2 separate regions of the Homo sapiens genome follow, and region 1 is linked to region 2. Evidence: promoter capture Hi-C in 16 types of primary human blood cells and fetal thymus (Javierre and others, 2016). All regions are on one chromosome and are shown on one strand. The core of a region is centred on a gene start or on the middle of the fragment in contact, and the rest is flanking DNA. Distances in the headings are between cores, read along the strand shown.

The links. Contacts are between HindIII fragments. The CHiCAGO score rates a contact against its expected background, and 5 or more counts as called.
Region 1: a fragment that was not itself captured here is called in contact with the fragment with the promoter of GJB4 in region 2 in 1 of 17 cell types (endothelial precursors); the score reaches 5.0 in endothelial precursors.

Annotation. Positions count from the first base shown.
Region 1 is chr1:33,602,989-33,609,446 of GRCh38, forward strand. CSMD2 (CUB and Sushi multiple domains 2) reads right to left here. Exons shown (of 71, transcript NM_001281956.2): 42 at 2,294-2,482. Among named protein-coding and RNA genes, the nearest start is that of ZSCAN20, 130 kb to the left of the region's middle. RefSeq lists enhancers at 1,997-3,196, 4,474-4,974, 4,975-5,475. The HindIII fragment of the contact is 2,316 bases long and covers 3,901-6,216 here.
Region 2 is chr1:34,757,358-34,763,924 of GRCh38, forward strand. GJB4 (gap junction protein beta 4) reads left to right here and starts at 2,383. Exons shown (of 2, transcript NM_153212.3): 1 at 2,383-2,431; 2 at 3,576-4,970. The coding sequence starts at 3,898. The coding sequence ends at 4,698. It overlaps GJB5 (gap junction protein beta 5), which reads left to right. Exons shown (of 2, transcript NM_005268.4): 2 at 1-1,155. The coding sequence ends at 795. The HindIII fragment of the contact is 14,269 bases long and covers 1,471-6,567 here.

The sequences.
Region 1 (6,458 bases), core at 3,809-6,308, 1.2 Mb before region 2:
TAGACTTCGAGTTGAGGGTTCCTGGGGTGAGGCTAAGGTTGGGTTCAAATCATAGCTGAACGATGTATTGAGCAGATAGTCTTAGATAAGTAGTTTAGCCTCCCTGAGTCTCCATTTCCTCACCTGTAAAATGGAACTAAGAATACCTCCCCCATAGGATTGTGGTGGTGATGAGGTGAAACGATGCAGGCAAAATGTTCAGCCCAGGCCCTGGAAGAGGACGCATTTGCTATGTAGATAAGATCCTCTCTCCTTATCTTCCTGTTCCCCAAAAGCAATACTCAATTTTAGTCTCACTGATTTAGGCCTCAGGCAGGAGGATGAAAAGACTTTGACATCTTCATGGTATTCAGAATCAGTCACCATGGAGGAAAATAGATGGGGATGGTGGACAAAAATCCCCAAACACCATGGTCCAGAATAATGAGTGTTGTAGCTGACATGGGGCATCAAGCAGACATCTGGTTGGGGCAGACCAGACTGAGGAGAGAGAATCCCAACAGATTCCAAGCAGAGGCCAGGGGTCCTGTGAATGCACGTACATCCTGAAAGTGGTGCACAGGTACACGCCATCCCTGCTACATAAGCTGAATATCTCCTGGGTGCCAGCCATGGCCTGGGAGACAGTGGGGAACAAGGTACTCTAGTTCTGTCCCAGGCACACACACCACTGGGACACAGCCAAACACACCAGCATCTGTAGCACAGGCTGGACCATGTCATCATCATGAATGCCACGGGGGTGTTTGGGGGAGCCCTGCATCTGGTTTTGTGAGAGTAAGAAAGGACTCCTTCTAGAATTCATATTTATACTCAGACCTAAGGGATGACTAGGGTTAAGTAGGCAAGGTAAGAGAGAGGAATGCTGTATGGGAAAGGAACAACATATGCTAAGACCCAGAGGCAAGAAAACATGGCACATTGGAAAACAAAGTATTTCAGCTTAGGCTGGAACATAAAATCTGCAAGACTGGAGAATATGGGAGGTCAGCAGGGACTAGGCCCTAACCTAAGGGTCATGTGTGCTATATTAAGGGGCTTAAAATTTGCCATTAGGGACATGGGAGAAAGCAAGAGAGTATGGTGTCAGAGAAGCCAAGGGAAGAAGGCTTCTGAGGAGGAAGAACAGCTTCTGGCTCAAGCTAGCAGACTGAGAAAGCGCTGCTCTTTTCTCTCTCCTGTGATGCCACAAAAAGACAAACAAGGTGTGAGAATGGAAGAAAGCCCAGGATGAGGCTTGTTGCACAGCACGTGATGGGCCAACAATTGCGGAATGACCAACTGGTTACGCAGAGCAGAGCTCTGAAAATCTGAAAAACTAACTGAGGCTATAATAGTTTTAGAAATCATGGTTTTACATTCCAACACCAGAACGGCTCAGTTTCGCAAACAAGGTCCTCTTTCCATCGAGAGTTAAACTGAGAGTTTGAGTCTGAGAGTGAGCCATCTGTGAAGTCCTCCAGCTCTTGTGAAATAAAGATGAGAAGTCCCACTTTACTGAGGAAGAACCTGAAGCTTAGAGAGGCAAAGGGGTTTGAGTTGGAGCCTGGGGTGATCTGATCCTAGAGCTGGGGCACTCTTTCCTGGATTACTGCCCTTGCTAAGGCTTCCTTTTTCAAGACAAATTTCTGCCACTCCTCCAGGAAAATGATGGGATGCCAGAATGAAGAGGGAAGGCAAATGGAACTGAAGTGTGCAGATGAGGGTGGAGGCAGCACAAGCTCTTGGTCACCTTCCTTCCTGGTTCTGGGTAAGGAAGAAGACCCAAGAAAGTGCCACCTCCAGCTCCCTGATAGATCAACTCAGGTCTCTCCAGCCCTGTGTAGAAGGAGAGTATAATGGAGCAGGGAGGGGGAAGATGAAGAGGGGAGCAAGAGAGTTCTTATAAAGAGGCTTCATGCTCTTCTCCCTTTGGGCAGGTGCCTGGATTAACTCTACCTCTCTAGCTCTCAGCATACCACTGGGCTCCCACTCCCTCACATGGAGCCTTCCCTTCCAATGGGAGTCCTCCAGTCTGTCAGGGTGGATCTTCCCAAGGGCTGGGTGTGTCTTCCTCTTGGCTGTGGCCCACATCTCCTCCAGGTCCTCCCTAGTGCTGGCCCGGAGCCCTGTCACCAGGACCCTCTCCCTGGAGAGGCTGGGCCACACCATGTGAAAACAGGATGGACCACAGTTTGCCTGGACCTCCAGCCCTGGAGATCCCACAGAGCAGGTAGGTGGAACATGGGATTGCTCTGGACCAGTCTCCACGAGTACCCCAGGAAGAACTGCTGGGGATGAGGGAGCGACATACCTTCACACTTGGGCAGGGGGTGGTCCCAGTTCCGGTTGGTGCCATGTTGACACGTGAGGACAGGGTGGCCAGTCAATTGATACCCCGGGAGGCACTCGAAGGTCACTGATTGTCCCACGTTGTAGCCAGCTCCCCTCACAATGCCATTGGCAAAGGGCTCTGGGTCTGGGCACTCTTGAAGTTCATAGGCTGGAAAAGATCCGGAGAAAAGGTCACTTTATTCTCTCTGACCAGAAAATAGGAGCGGCAGAAAGCATAGTGGTGAAGCCTCAAGATTTGGACTCAGATGGACCTTTGTCATGTACAAGTCATTGGCTTTGGGTAAGTAATTTAACTTGTGTACGCCTCAGTTTTCCTGTGTATAGAATGATTATTTTGAGGACTAAGTAGGATAACACATACATAGCTCTTTCCACAGTACTGGCACATGGTGAAAGCTCAGTAAATAGTATCTATTATTAGTAATTCCGTAGGAAAAGGAGGCTCAAGGAAGACATTGCTCAATTGAACCTCTATTCACTGAGTGCCACTGGGGGCCAGGCACCAGCCTAACTCCTTTCATGTTGCTTATCTCATTGAACCTTCACAACCAGGATCAAGATCCCAGACATAGGAAGCGGCGACGGGAGGAGTTGAGTTGGTTCTTTCCAACTCCGAGAGATCAAAACCTCTCAGGAAGGAAGAAATCTGGTGGGAGTAAGTCAAATCTGTGGCAAGGAGAGAAGCTTTTCAGAGGGAGTAGCTGGGCTAAGGGACGTGTGGCTGTCACAAAGCAAGTCCCTCCAAAGGGCAGGGAAGCTGTTTCCATGAGAGTGGGTGGCCTGACTCCACAGGAGATGCCTCCATGGAAGCAGCTGAGGCCAGTCCATTGGGGAGAGGCTGCTGAGGGATTCCTGAGCAAGGCCTTTGATGAATTGGGTCCACAGGACACAGAACAGCCTTCGTGGCAGTAATTGCGCCCACTCCACTCAGGAAATTGGCAGCGGGAGGAGACAGAACGTTCCTACAGTGGGAATCCTCAGTGGAAGTAGTTGGGACTGGATAGATGCTTCTTAGAAGTACATGTGTTTCTCATACGTAATAACAACATCAATAACGCGGATCTTGAAGATAACATTTCCTGAGCACTCACGTGGCTGTGTTATGTTTCCATTCAGTACCTCACAGGGAAGTCTCAGGGGGAGGAACTGGGCAGGTTTCCCTGGGAAATCATTGAGGTAATTGGGTGTGCCAAAAACTGAGCAACCACATGGGTGGGGTGGCTGCTTAGCCCCAGGACAGGCCTGGCCCTGCAGCACGGGGGTTTGGGCCGTTTGGCAACGAAAGTCTCAGCGGAAGCAGGGGGCCTTTTGCCCAGGGAGGCAACCCAATGGGATGGGTTGGGTCTTTACAGAAAGGCTCAGGGTAGCCACGTGGACTCAGAGACGGGGAGAGAAGGAAGGGAGTGGCTGTGTGTGGGAAGCCAGGAGCAGCCTTGATGAGAGCAGCTGGGCCTCTCCTACAGGAATCATCTCCAGTGGAAGGATCTAGGCTCTTCAAAAAGACAGAAACTTCAGTGAGAGTACCTCAACACTGAGAGAAACCTCAGAGCCTGTTCCCCTGCAAGAAGCTTCAAAGGGAGAGGTTGGCCATATAAGGCAGAAATAAACCCTAAGAGGAGGAAGGATGAACTTCCCCAAAGAAGGACTCCTCAGGAAAGCAAGTGGGTTTGTTCTAAAGGGACACACCTGGTGACAGTGGGAACACACTTCCAAACAAAGTGCCATAATCAGGTAGATACAATTTCAAGCAAAATGCCATTATTTTAAAACATTAATAATGATGATGCCTAGCATTTGGGGACAATTGTACATCTTAGCCATTTTGCTAAGTTCTTTATAAACAGAACCCTCCTGAGAAATTGTCATGGAACACATTAAGCATGTCGGACCGGGAGGCCTGGCTAGGAGTTGCTTATGCTGCTACTAAGAACTTGATGGGAATCTTTACTTAAAGAAGAGAAAAGAAGACCCTAGCATGGGAAGTGCAGAGTATCAGTTGGAGGAATTTTGAGAAAGAGTAAAGAGTTGGACTTCTAAGGAAAGTCGAGGGGCCATAGAGAGCTGGGTCTGACAGAAACAGCCTCAGTGGGGACAAATGGCTCGTTCATTGAAGCTGGGTTTTTCCCCAGAGGAAAAACCTGGGGAGAGTGGTCAGAGCTTGCTTACGAGGTGCCGCTCCGTACGGCGGAGGAAGGTGTAAACAGAGAGTGTGGGCTTATGGTCAGGGAGAGTTATTTGGGCCTATCACAAATGATGAGGCCTCTGTGGGAATACTTAGGCCTCTGGCCCTAGAGGCAACCTAGCCCAAGAGGTTGGGATCGCCCCAAACGAGAAGCCTTAATAGGGGTGGAGCCCAAGTCTGAGGGGAGCAGGTGCCCCGGCACCATGTGTGGCTCCACAGGAGTCCTTGGGACTGTGGCAGACAGGTGAACGCTGAGGGAGTGGCTGTGCCTGGGACTGAAGGGGAACATCCAGGCAAGTCCTGAAGGTCACATGCTTGTGGGAGGAGGGGGCCCATTATAGGGTGGAAGCCCCATTGGATGTCGCTGTGCCTCTCACATGTTGGGCCAACTCCTGGTGGAGGAGCTGGGTGTCTGAAGGCAACTCGCTGCCCCCTGGCCTCCCTACGCAGGGAAAGTTATCAGAGGAGGACTGGGCCTGTGGAGGCTGCAAACCTCAGTGGGAGAGACAGGCCCATCCCAGGGAGGGACACTAGTCCCGAATGTTGGCTTGTCGTCCAGGAAACCTCAGGGGGACAGCGGGGCCCCTTGTGCAGGGTGGCCATAGTGGGAGCATTTCCAAAGATGGGGGCTGGGGAATCAGGGGCGAGTGAGCCCAAGGCCAGGGCTCTGTGGGGGTAGTTAGGCCTCTTCTGTCGAGGGAGTCAATGGAGAATCTGAGGCGGTCACACAGGCACAACCTTTACAAGGACAAGTGGGCTCATCACACGGGGAGCACAGCGAGTGGCTGGTCCCATCACAGGGATTCAGTGGCAGGACCGTGCCCATTGTCTAGGGTGAAGGCACAGTGCACGGGGTGGGCCCAGGGCAGCTGTCCCTGGCACAATGGTGGCACTGCCATTCCTTATATTTATCCGAGAAGGAAGGTCTCAGGGAGAGAGCACTTGGGCCTGGGAGGGGTGCAAGGGGCTGAAATATGTCTCCCAAAATTCATATGCTGAAGACTTCACTCCTTGTGAATATGACCTTATGGGAAATAGACAGGATCTTTACCAAACTTATGGAAATTAAAATGAGGTCACTAGGGTGGGCTCTGATCCAATATGACTGGTGTCTTTATAGAAGGTGGGAATTTGGAGACAGAGGCACATGAAGAGCACCATGTGAAGATGAAGCCAGAGGTCGGGGTGATACTTCTAAGAGCTGAGAATGCCAAGATTGTCATGAACTACCAGAAGCCAGGGGAGGGGCCCGGACAGAGTCTCCCTCATGGGCCTCAGAAGGAACCAACTCTGCTGACACCTTGATCTTGACCATCCAGCCCCAGAGCCATTGGACAGTAAGTTTCCGTTGTTTAAGCCACCCAGTTTGTGGTACTTTCTTATGGCAGCCCTAACAAACTAAGACACAGGAAAGCCTTGGGGGAAGGCGTTGCATCTGTCTCTGAGAGGACATATTTGGGACCAAGTCCCTCCTGTGACATCACGGCCATCCGACGCGTCATGACCTGTTTGACAGGTACACACCTCCCAGATAATAGGCACAGACATCCTTGGGCAAGGCTGGCCTCTGTGATGAGCCTGCACACACCTTCCCTGGGTGTGGCAGCTGTGCTAACACCAGTGAAGTGGCTCTGTCTGGGTGCAAGGCCCAGCTTCTCCTGAGGCTCCCTCTAGATGACAAGCCCAGCCGCACTTACCAAAGCTTTCCCTGAGATGGACCCCGGAACCCTGAAGTCTCCTGCAGAACTGATTCAGTTGCACCCACCTCGTGGGATGCCCTTTAAGGCTTTCCCTAAATGAGAAGCCCAGTACCCCCTCAGTATTCTTCTCTGGCAAGGGAGGAGCTCCATCCCCACCATATTATTTCCAGAATAAAGAAGTCAACTCTCAGAAAGCTGCATATAGGATGGTACTATTTATATAGAAAACGTGGTCAAAAAAT
Region 2 (6,567 bases), core at 1,133-3,632:
CTGAGTGGGGTCAACAAGTACTCCACAGCCTTTGGGCGCATCTGGCTGTCTCTGGTCTTCATCTTCCGCGTGCTGGTGTACCTGGTGACGGCCGAGCGTGTGTGGAGTGATGACCACAAGGACTTCGACTGCAATACTCGCCAGCCCGGCTGCTCCAACGTCTGCTTTGATGAGTTCTTCCCTGTGTCCCATGTGCGCCTCTGGGCCCTGCAGCTTATCCTGGTGACATGCCCCTCACTGCTCGTGGTCATGCACGTGGCCTACCGGGAGGTTCAGGAGAAGAGGCACCGAGAAGCCCATGGGGAGAACAGTGGGCGCCTCTACCTGAACCCCGGCAAGAAGCGGGGTGGGCTCTGGTGGACATATGTCTGCAGCCTAGTGTTCAAGGCGAGCGTGGACATCGCCTTTCTCTATGTGTTCCACTCATTCTACCCCAAATATATCCTCCCTCCTGTGGTCAAGTGCCACGCAGATCCATGTCCCAATATAGTGGACTGCTTCATCTCCAAGCCCTCAGAGAAGAACATTTTCACCCTCTTCATGGTGGCCACAGCTGCCATCTGCATCCTGCTCAACCTCGTGGAGCTCATCTACCTGGTGAGCAAGAGATGCCACGAGTGCCTGGCAGCAAGGAAAGCTCAAGCCATGTGCACAGGTCATCACCCCCACGGTACCACCTCTTCCTGCAAACAAGACGACCTCCTTTCGGGTGACCTCATCTTTCTGGGCTCAGACAGTCATCCTCCTCTCTTACCAGACCGCCCCCGAGACCATGTGAAGAAAACCATCTTGTGAGGGGCTGCCTGGACTGGTCTGGCAGGTTGGGCCTGGATGGGGAGGCTCTAGCATCTCTCATAGGTGCAACCTGAGAGTGGGGGAGCTAAGCCATGAGGTAGGGGCAGGCAAGAGAGAGGATTCAGACGCTCTGGGAGCCAGTTCCTAGTCCTCAACTCCAGCCACCTGCCCCAGCTCGACGGCACTGGGCCAGTTCCCCCTCTGCTCTGCAGCTCGGTTTCCTTTTCTAGAATGGAAATAGTGAGGGCCAATGCCCAGGGTTGGAGGGAGGAGGGCGTTCATAGAAGAACACACATGCGGGCACCTTCATCGTGTGTGGCCCACTGTCAGAACTTAATAAAAGTCAACTCATTTGCTGGTTCCAGGTGCCCTCTGGTTGTGCGGCCTTCGTGACCCTCACACGTTCATGGTGTCAATCTCTCTGCCCCCGTGAAGAGCTGCACTTGATCCAGCCTGTGAGGGGCATCCTCTCTTCCAGAAAGGGGGCCCCCAGTACTCCAGGGGACGTGCTACTTGCTCATGCTCCCATCTAGCCTTTATCCCCCATGGCAAGTTTAGTCCTGTGGGTTGTCTGCAGAGAGAATGGAGCTTAGTCCATGTTGCAGTGGGAAGTTCATGAACTTAGAATGCCTGTGTCGAATCCAAGTTCCACCGGGACTCTGGGAAAGTAACTTAAGCTTCTCTCCAAAATGGGTTAATAATACCTAGCCTGTGGGGTTGTGCTGAGGACTGATGAGCTCATGGCTGTGGACAGGGCTAGCCAGCTGTAAAAGGACACATAAATGTTAATCATTGGTATTAGGAAGTGCTTGATAATGCCTGTGAGAAACGAGGCAGAAGGCCCCTCCCTAGCTGCACATTAACCTTCATCATCCCAGCCAGAACACAGGTCCCAGGCCCCCCACCAGCATATGTGAGGTCACACTCCAGCCTCCCTGGAGGCCTTCCCCAGGACCCACAGAGGATGGACAGCGATGCTGTGCCTGGCCCTGTGCTAACTGGGGCATTTCATGCTGCTGACCTGCATTCCTTGCCTCCACCAAGGCTATGGGTGCCCTGGTCTAGAAAAGTCATAGTTGACCCCTCCCATTTCCTACACAATCCAAGAGCTTCCAGACTCCAGTCCCAGAAATATCCCACCACCAGAATGGGATGCGTTCCTGCACTAAATTAAGGTTGCCCCTTTCCGTAGATGTCAGCTGCTGAGACCTCAGTATCAGGCTTCCCAGGAAAAGGGCAGGAGAGAGGGCAAGGAGGCAGGGTAAGGAGGCAATGGGAAGGGGACAGGGTCAATCCCACTGGTGCTGTCCTAGGCCTAGGCATAATGATATCAGGCTCCTGAACCCCACACAGCAGTCTCACCCACATACCTGCCTGCCTGGGAGCCAGGCTCAGCCATACCCAGCCAGGCTAGAGAGGAGGCGTGGGCCAGGAGAGAAGAGCCGCAGGTGTTTGCTCTGAGTATGTGCCCGGGGAAGTCCGCCCTCCTGCCTGCCCACCCAATCACTCTCGCTTGGCTCATTGGCCCAGAAAGCCCCACCCAGCAAGGGAGAGAGGAACAAAAGCTGCCTCCGGGAGGTCCTGAGGCAAACAGACAAGCCCAAGGACAAGGAAGCAGCTACTGGACCCAAGAAGGGTGAGGACCGAATAGGGCAGGAGGCTGGCCAGGAAGCAAGCAACCAGCTGAGCTGAGGATATCCAAGGGACCTCAGGCTGTGGGCTGGGCTTCAGGGAGGGAGCCAGAGGGTCAGTGTCCCTAGAGGATCCCCAGGGAAGTGCCAAGGAGGAGAAGGAATGTCCTGGCTGACCTAAGGGACGACAGAAGATTGGGGAAGAGGGGGTATCAGGAAGAAATGGGTTTCAGTTCAGTTTAACAAACATCTATTGTGTGTTCACTGGGCCAGGCCAGTGCTAGGTGCTAGGGAGACAGAGGTGAAGAGCCTGCCCTCTAGCAGCTGACAGCCTGGCAAAAAAATAAGACAGGTAAATAGACCATTTGGGTACAGGCGATGCCTCTTGCTCTGAAAGTGTCCCAGGCACACGATGTCTGAAGAGGCTGAGAGCAGAGTCAGGGATTGGGGATGGGGAAGGAGGAGGGTAGGAGGAGGGGAGGGTTGGACATGGGGCCTGATGGGGACTCCAGACAAGGGGGTGTGGAGGTCAGAGTCCACAGGAGAGGGGCCTGAGAGGAAATAATGGAAATGCGGCTAGCAAACAGCCACTAAATGGACAGAGGAGGGGGTGCCCCCAGAGAAAGTAAATGGGGGGTCCAGACCATGCCAGAATCCATCCTCAGTCCTTCCTAAAGCTGGAATGGTTGGAATTCCAGAGGAACCCACTGTGGTCAAGACAGTCAGCCCTCAGGCCCCAGCACCAGTACACGGGTTGGCAGGGATGATATCAAGTCCCCGTGATTCCAAAGCACCTCTGTTTAGTTTGGGAGGGAATGCCAGGGCTGAGAACCTTCCTGGAGCCAGAGGCAAGGAGTAAGGATGCAGATTGTTCTGGGATTTACCAAGGGGCTGATGTGAACGTCCCCAACACGGGGCCAGGCTCTTGTTGGTGTTCAGTAAAAGTGGGATGGATCTGACAACTGATAAGGATACGTTCCCACCCCTCCTGCCCTGGCCCAGCCCTGGCAGCTGATGGGAGAGCAGATCGTCCAATTCAAGCCTTCCTACGGTCTCTTTAGAAGACATGGGCTGAAACTTGGGGTAATAGAGGTTGGCTGGCATATCCATGCAGGATGATTGTCTTCACATGTATCTATTACCTTGTAGAATAAGGTAGACCCTGATTTTGGAACCTGAAGACCAAAGTGCAAGATTAGCTCTGCTACTTCCATCTGTGGACCATTGGGCAGGTATCTCTGGGCCTTCACTTACTCTTTGTGAAATGAGGACAGGGGCAATCCCTACCCTACCAAGTCATTGGGAGTGAAGACATGATGACACGGTGATTGTGAAAAGATTTTGTCAATCGCACCAGCATTAAGGGTGCCCATCTCCAGGTTCCCCCAGGCCTCAAGGCTCCCAAGGCCTGAGTGGGCAGGTAGCACCCAGGTATAGACCTTCCACGTGCAGCACCCAGGACACAGCCAGCATGAACTGGGCATTTCTGCAGGGCCTGCTGAGTGGCGTGAACAAGTACTCCACAGTGCTGAGCCGCATCTGGCTGTCTGTGGTGTTCATCTTTCGTGTGCTGGTGTACGTGGTGGCAGCGGAGGAGGTGTGGGACGATGAGCAGAAGGACTTTGTCTGCAACACCAAGCAGCCCGGCTGCCCCAACGTCTGCTATGACGAGTTCTTCCCCGTGTCCCACGTGCGCCTCTGGGCCCTACAGCTCATCCTGGTCACGTGCCCCTCACTGCTCGTGGTCATGCACGTGGCCTACCGCGAGGAACGCGAGCGCAAGCACCACCTGAAACACGGGCCCAATGCCCCGTCCCTGTACGACAACCTGAGCAAGAAGCGGGGCGGACTGTGGTGGACGTACTTGCTGAGCCTCATCTTCAAGGCCGCCGTGGATGCTGGCTTCCTCTATATCTTCCACCGCCTCTACAAGGATTATGACATGCCCCGCGTGGTGGCCTGCTCCGTGGAGCCTTGCCCCCACACTGTGGACTGTTACATCTCCCGGCCCACGGAGAAGAAGGTCTTCACCTACTTCATGGTGACCACAGCTGCCATCTGCATCCTGCTCAACCTCAGTGAAGTCTTCTACCTGGTGGGCAAGAGGTGCATGGAGATCTTCGGCCCCAGGCACCGGCGGCCTCGGTGCCGGGAATGCCTACCCGATACGTGCCCACCATATGTCCTCTCCCAGGGAGGGCACCCTGAGGATGGGAACTCTGTCCTAATGAAGGCTGGGTCGGCCCCAGTGGATGCAGGTGGGTATCCATAACCTGCGAGATCAGCAGATAAGATCAACAGGTCCCCCCCACATGAGGCCACCCAGGAAAAAAGGCAGGGGCAGTGGCATCCTTGCCGTAGCAGGGTGGTGAGGAGGGTGGCTGTGGGGGCTCAGGAAGCTCGCCCAGGGGCCAATGTGGGAGGTTGGGGGTAGTTTGGTCCCTGGGTCCTGAGCCTCAGGGGAGGGAGGTTGATAGCTACTGGGGATTTTGTATATGGCAACAGTATATGTCAAACCTCTTAATAAATATGATTTTCCCAGTACTTTGCAGACCAGGTGGGGAGTGGCCGATAGGAAAACGGGGGGCAGGGGGGATTAGGTGGACCTCAGAGAGGATGCCAAGACTACTCAGTGAGCACCTGAGCACTGGAACCTCAGATCCAGGCTCACCCATCACCCCCCAACACACACAGTGTGTGCCCCCAGAACATGATGGGCTGTGCCCAAAGGCAGAGGCTACTCCAGGGGCCTCTGGGTTGTGCAACCACCTGGCCAAAGCAGGAGGAGAGGAATTCCAGGAGACCCTGTGCCCAGCAGGAGTCAGTTCTCAGTGATCGTCCATCACAGGAATGAGCGTGGGTTGGGCCTCCCTAGCCCTGCCCAGCACAGGTCCCGGATAGGTGAGTCCCCTCTGACGGTGGGAGGGTCACGGCTGAGAGCAAGCCAGGGATGGGAATCTGTCAAGGTGCCCAAGAGGCACATCCTACAGGCCAGGGCCCACTGAGAGTGTCTGAGCTGAAAGGTCCCTTGTGGATCCTGGAGTCTATGGAATTTCATGTTCTTTTTCACTGATACAACTTCCCCATCCCATACTCCCCCACCCCACCACCACTCAGACTTTGGCAACTCCCAGAACCACACCTCCACCCTAACATGCCTCTGAGTCCCACCAAATGCCCACTAGACAATTCCCTGGGAGGCCCCCAGGCATCTCATACCCGCCACTCCCAAGCTGACCTCATCAGCTCACCCAGACCTGCCCCCTTGAAGATGCCCCACCCCATCTCATGCAGGACACAGCTATTCACCCAGCTGCCCAAGCCAGGGGACGAGACAAGCCTGACATCCTTGTCCCTCACACCCCACACCCCCACTGGCACCAAATCCCACTGATTCCAGTCCCTAAATGCCACCTGAATCTGCTCTTCCTCTCCTTACAACAACCTAACTACCTCCTGGACCTCCCCCATCTGCCCTCCGCTACAGGGATGGAGTGATTTATCTGTCTATGCAACTGACCATGTCATTCCACCTGCTTTAAAATTTCTTCCACCATCACCAGCCCCATGCCCTCAGCATGGCCCCCGCTGACCTCCCCACCTCATCCCAGCTTCCTCCCCTTTTCTACCTGCAAGTAATACCAAAGGGCTCCTGGTTCCCCAGGCAGACACGTCATGTGGTGTCATTCCTCGTGCCTTTGTCATGCTATTTCCTCTGGCTAGAATGCCCTTCCCACCCCCTCTGTGATCCTCCCTCGAACCTCTAGGACAGCTTTACCCATCTCTCTAAGTGCCAGCCTCGCTTGTCCCTCTGCCACTCTCCCCAAATCGGAATTGTCACTTCCCCTGAGTGTCTCCCTATCAGTCTGTGAGCCCTTAATGGGCAGGTCACTGAGTCATCCAGGTCCCTGCTGCCTTCAATAAATGCTTGTTAGATGAGTAAATAGTCTGCTTGGGGGAAGGAACTGAGTCTTGTTCATCGGAATCTTCCACCACACCTAGCCTGCGGACTTCAGCAAAGCATTTGTTTGCTTGCTTTGTTTTGTTTTTGTTGTTTCAACTAGAGCCAGCATCAAGGTCTCACCTTTAGGTAAGCAAACTTGAGTCTAGAAAGGGGAGGAGGCCCTTCAAGACCACACAG